Linked DNA regions of Homo sapiens: region 1 is linked to region 2. The links are contacts of gene promoters, found by promoter capture Hi-C in human tissues and cell types (Jung and others, 2019). All regions are on one chromosome and are shown on one strand. Each heading gives the region's core, a stretch centred on a gene start or on the middle of the fragment in contact. The rest is flanking DNA. Distances are from core to core; before and after follow the strand shown. Region 1 has its middle 5.5 kb from the start of DNAJC11. Region 2 holds the start of VAMP3 (vesicle associated membrane protein 3).

Evidence for each region. Contacts are between HindIII fragments. The study calls those that stand out against the background at their distance.
Region 1: a contact is called between a fragment that was not itself captured here and the fragment with the promoter of VAMP3 in region 2, in 1 of the 25 tissues and cell types used here (dorsolateral prefrontal cortex).

What each region holds. Positions count from the first base shown.
Region 1 is chr1:6,705,975-6,708,736 of GRCh38, reverse strand. No RefSeq gene overlaps it. Among named protein-coding and RNA genes, the nearest start is that of DNAJC11, 5.5 kb to the right of the region's middle. The HindIII fragment of the contact is 6,570 bases long and covers 1-2,762 here.
Region 2 is chr1:7,769,874-7,772,573 of GRCh38, reverse strand. It overlaps VAMP3 (vesicle associated membrane protein 3), which reads right to left and starts at 1,278. Exons shown (of 5, transcript NM_004781.4): 1 at 1,189-1,278. The coding sequence starts at 1,190. RefSeq lists silencers at 915-1,144, 1,109-1,351 and enhancers at 1,585-1,634, 1,378-2,074. The HindIII fragment of the contact is 8,393 bases long and covers 1-2,700 here.

The DNA of each region.
Region 1 (2,762 bases), core at 153-2,652, 1.1 Mb after region 2:
GGAGGCTGAGGCGGGGGGATCACCTGAGGTCAGGAATTCGAGAATAGCCTGGCCAACATGGTAAAACCCCATCTCTACTAAAAATACAAAAATTATCTAGTTATGGTGGGAGGCTGAGGCAGGAGAATCGCTTGAACCCAGGAGTCGGAGGTTACAGTGAGCCAAGATTGCACCACTGCACTCCAGCCTGGGCGACAGAGCAAGACTCTGTCTCAAAAAAAAAAAAAAAACACCAAGAGTGAGTGGTAAAGGAAGGAGAAGCAGTAGGTGCTTCCACTTAGAAGTCCAACAAAGACCAAACTCTACTTCTACAAAATAGGACCCTTGGTCACTCCCCTCCCCAGCCTGCCTCTTCCCCAGTCTTCCTCAGCTCCACAAACAGCCTTACTACCTAGTAACTCAAGCCAAAATATAGAAGTAACCACCAATTCTTCTCTTTTCTTTATTCCCCAAGCCCAATCAATCAGTAATTCCTGTTGCCTCCAATCCAATGTGTGGTCCATGTGTGACCATTCCCATTGCTCCTGACTGAGTCTAAGTCCAAGGCCACCGTCATCTGTTCCTTGGAACACTGCAATAGCCTCTGATGGGGTAGGGGTGAGGGGATGCCTCCATTCTTGCTCCTTTGAATCCAATCTCCCTGGAGAGATCATTCAGGTAGGACAAAAATCAGACCATGTCATTTCCCTGCTTAGAATCCTTCAGTGGTTCCCCATTGTGGCCAGAATGAAATTTCAATTGCTGAGCACCATGTTTAAGGCCCCTGGTGATACCGCCCTGGTGTGGCTTCTCTAACCTCCTTTCCTATCACTCTCCCACCTTCGTCAGCTCTGCGCTCACCTGCTCTCTCCCTGGTCCTGCACACCAAACCTGTTCCTGCCTCAAAGGCTTTGCCCTGGAGATTCTTCCCCCTTGCAAAGCTGGGTCTTGCAAAGCTGGGTCCTTCCCATCATTCAGTTCAAAATCACCTCCTGGGATAGATCTTCCCAGACCAACCAATGTGGAGTACCTTTCCTGCACCGGAGATGTTCCACCATTACATCACTATGTTGTATTTTACTTACACACTGATCATCTCAAATTATCTTGTGTATTCACTAATTTGTTTCTTTTCTGCACCTGCCCCGTGCCACGCTGAGTGTTCATGTGGCGCCCGGCCTTGAGTGTTACTTTCACTAGCACAGCACCCATTTCTCTCTTGTGAATTGCTGAGACTCTAGTGCCCATTTCAGGACTCTGTCTTCAGACTTAAGGATAAGAGGAATAGACACTAGGGTGGGGGGAATGTATAGGCTATTAATATGAGATGAAAATGAAAAGATTGCCAGGTAACACTGCAGTACAGTTGAAGTTAGATAGCACGAACTCTGTATTTTCCAAGACTTTCTCCACCTACTCTTGACAGCCTGGGTGAGAATAGAAAGGTTGACAACAGAGACAACATAAATTTTGGGCAGAGCCAAAGGACAAAGGACTGTATCACTGAAACGGCCAAGAAAGCAGACTGGAATGGGGTACCCCTAAGAGATCTGATGGATTTTGATAGATCAATACATAGAGACTAAGGACCTAAAGTCCCAAGCAGTGAAAACCAGTCCCACAGGCACAACGGAAGAATGACATTGCAGGTAAAATGCTGAGTGGCGTTAGATTCTCAGCCTCTCTGGGCGGCTATCTCCAAAGAGGCAGGTGTGGCTCTTCCCCCGGGGTATCCCGACCCTTCTGTAATGATCATCTTGGCTAAAGACTAGTCAGTGAATACTCAGAAAGAAGATAACATCAAGAAAATTTAATTATTGAATGCTGGCAAAGTTCCCCTTCTTTCCTTAAGCAAAGGATCTTTTTTCCCTATCTCCTTTAGCAGGGTTGTCAGAGCTCATGAGGGAGAGGACGGGCAGGCTATGAATGGCAAGCATGCAGTAAATCCCAGTCTGGACTCAGTGACAAAGGAGTAATAAAAAGATTATAGGTAATTTTTCCTCCTGAATTATAGAGAGGGTGTGGATTCAGCCTGGCTATAGAAGGGGTGGGGCAGGCTGCCCACCTCTGCTCTCAGGAGCGTTACTCAGGAAAAGGGGGAAGGGCTGCAAGGCCTCCAGCTGGGGTTACAAATCAAAATACAGGATTCTGGCCAGTATGGTGGCTCACGCCTGTAATCCCAGCACTTTGGGAGGCCAAGGTGGGCTGATCACCAGAATTGCTTAAACCTAGGAGGCGGAGGTTGCAGTGAGCCAAGATCATGCCGCTGCACTCCAGACAGGGCAACAGAGCAAGACTCCATCTCAAAAAAATAAAATAAAATAAAAAAATAAAGCAGGATTCCCAGAAAAGTAGTTATTTAGTATATGTATACATCCCCATACAATGTGATGTGTGTGTGTGTGTGTGTGTGTATGTATATATATATATATGTTTTGTTTTTTTTTTGAGACAGGGTCTCAATCTGTCACCCAGGCTGGAGTGCAGTGGCATTATCACAGCTCACTGCAGCCTCGACCTCCCCGGGCTCTGGTGATCCTCCCATCTCAGCCTCCCAAGTGGCTGGGACCAAAAGCATGTGCTACCATGCCTGGCTAATTTTTGCATTTTGTGTAGAGTTGGGGGTTTCACCATGTGGCCCAGGCTTGTCTTGAACTCCTGGGCTCAAGAGATCTGACCACCTTGGCCTCCCAAAGTGATGTGATTACAGGCATGAGCCACTGCACCCAGTCCTTGGTATACTTATACTAAAAAATTCTTCATTGTTCATCTAAAATGCAAAT
Region 2 (2,700 bases), core at 29-2,528:
AAGGCTTTATTTCTCCCCATGCAGATCTTTCTTAACCACTCTGACTCTGAAGTCATTATTGGCTCCATTACTTGGAAAGTATCACTTTGGTTTTTCAGGTATAAAGTCCCGCCTCCTCGAATAGATCACAGGTTCCTGGGTCTTCTTACTCTCTTCTCTGTATCCTAGATAGCACCTAGCATGTGCCTTGGTATACAACAGTCTGATGGGCTGTTTGAACAGTCACTTTACATCTGTCATGTGTCAATGACCAGGGCTACAACAGATCTCATCACCGTCCTCACGGAGTTTAGTATCTGGTAGATAAGTAAGGACCATGCCGTGGCGCTAGACTCTTTCCATGCTTTTCCTCCTTTAACCCTCATAACTCTCTGAGGGGAATATTACTCCTATTTTACAAATGAGTAAAGTGAGGTTTAGAGAGTCAACACAGCTGGCTGCAGGACAGCTTGTTTTTAGATCAGGTCCTGTGTACCTTGGCTCTAGATCTTAACCACTGTGATCTATTGGCACAGCAGCCTCAGCAGGAACATTCGAGGGGGGTCCCCAGCTCCTGGAAGAAACCCGGGGCTTCCTCCGACGGTGAGCAATGAGCAGAATGGAGGTGGAAGAGGGAGTCCTTGTGATTCTTAACCATTAGCATTCTCTGAGTCTTACCACTGGAAGCAGGGGTTTGCAACGTGCTTTCGCTTAAGAGAGCGAAGGCCCACGGTTAAGTGATCTTTCCAGTGCAGATGCCCCTAGCTAGGCAAGGAGCTCTTCGGCCCACAGGGGCTCAGGACAGGGCCGAGGTCCTTTCTTTCGCAACTTCTGGGGCCCAGCGCAGCACCGGGCCGAGAGCGGGCGCTCCCGAACCAGGGCTGTCGTCCCCATTCCTCTCAGGGACGTCGGGGACTAGAAAGGGAAGGGGCGAGGAGCGGGCTGCGGGCGGGCAGCTCACTTCCTCCGGGAAGCGTCTCGCCGCCCCGCCCTTGCCCCTTCCGCGTCCGCCCGATGGCCGCGGGACCCGCCCGGCCCGTCTGCAGCCCGCGACCCAAGGGCCACCGCCCACCCCCAGGCCTCGGGATCCCCGCGCAGCCCCGGCCTGCGTCCGAGTGGCGGCCGGCGGCAACTGGGCAGTATGGCGGTCCCAGCGCGAGCTGCCGCCTGCGGGGCCCGAAGCCGCCCGCGTCGCGTAGCGTCACTCACATTTTGGCAGCTGCGGCGGCGGCAGCGGCGACGAGAGAGGGTCAGCAGAGAAGCGAAGTTGGGACCGGAGGCCAGGGAGATGGGTGGGACGGCGCGGCGCGGGGCAAAGACGTCACTAGGCGGAGCCGGGGGAGTGGGCGGGGCGAAGAGGGGGCGCGCCGGAAGTGGGCGGGGGCGTCGTGGGTGGGTGCGTCCAGGGCGGGGTCAGAGCGAGACGTCCCCTCCCCGGACGAGGTCACTTGGGAACTTGAGGGCCACAGGGGTCCCAGGGCGGTCCGGGCTCTGAAACGCAGAACGCAGGTCAATACAGCTCCCTGTCCGCACCGCCGTCCGCGCTGGCGCTTGGGGACGTGGTCTGTAAACGTGGTGCATTAGCCACTGGCGAGGGACTGCGTGGATAAGTGAGGGTGGGGGCAATTCATGTTATTCTGGGCTCGGGACCATTTCTAACAGTATTAGAGACAGATGACTGGCTTCTGCTGAGTGTTCCAGAGTAACCTAGTGATCCTGAGGGCACCATGTTTCTCTAAAGTAGTTGAAATAGGAAGTCCATTTCGGGTATTTGTCACATGGTGTTGGGTGAGGTTCCCGCTCATGTTTTCATCGGTGACACAAATATTTGTCACTGCAGATCATATTATAATCTGCTTACGAGAGCCTTGGCATCAAGGCTGTAGTTCCTTTATTTCTGTATTTTCAGGCCCTAGCACAGAATAGGTCCTCAGGTTTTGGTCGAAGGGAGGGAAGCACAAATCTGAACGCAGTGAGTTACCTTGTATATATTTGTTACTGAAATATTCCTACCAACATAGTTACCTACACCAAAAAATAAAACACTAATAGGTCATTGGTGGGTCTCTTAGATGAGAAGTGAAAAATACAGTACTTAAATACTATGCTGTTTTTTCCAACTCTAAATAGAATACTTTGAAAAGGGAAACGTTAGTATATATCGAATAAACGAGTGTCACAAAGGCGGTGGGATTTGAGCTGGGTACTAGTGGAAAAGAACTTTCCAAGTAAGGGTTGGGCAAACACCATGAACAAAGACAGCAGTGAAAATGGACGCAGTGTGCACAGACCACCTAGAGGGTGCAGGTTGGGTACAAGTGAAAAGAAGACTGAATAAAGAGGATAAACAAACAAGAAAAATGTCATTTAATTGTAGTGGGCCCTGGAAACCATTGACTTACGGACGTGGGAGATCCATGATGCAAAATTTCTCTGGCAGTAGTGGCCAGATGGATTAGATGGAAGAGGGAGCACTAGGGAGATAAGGAGAGGCTCTGCAGTGAACGGGAAGGGAGCGGCGATGACACAATACTCAGAAAGGACGACGTTCGTAATCTGCTGGAAAATGCCTTTTAGAAGACTTTAGAGGATTGTAACTGAAAAGGTGAATTAAATTAATGTCTTTATCTTTCAAATAATTGCACTGCCTTACACAAATGATTGACATGTTGAGAGGTGCCTGGAAAGATAGGGGAAAAGCTCTCTGAATGGTGGCTGGAA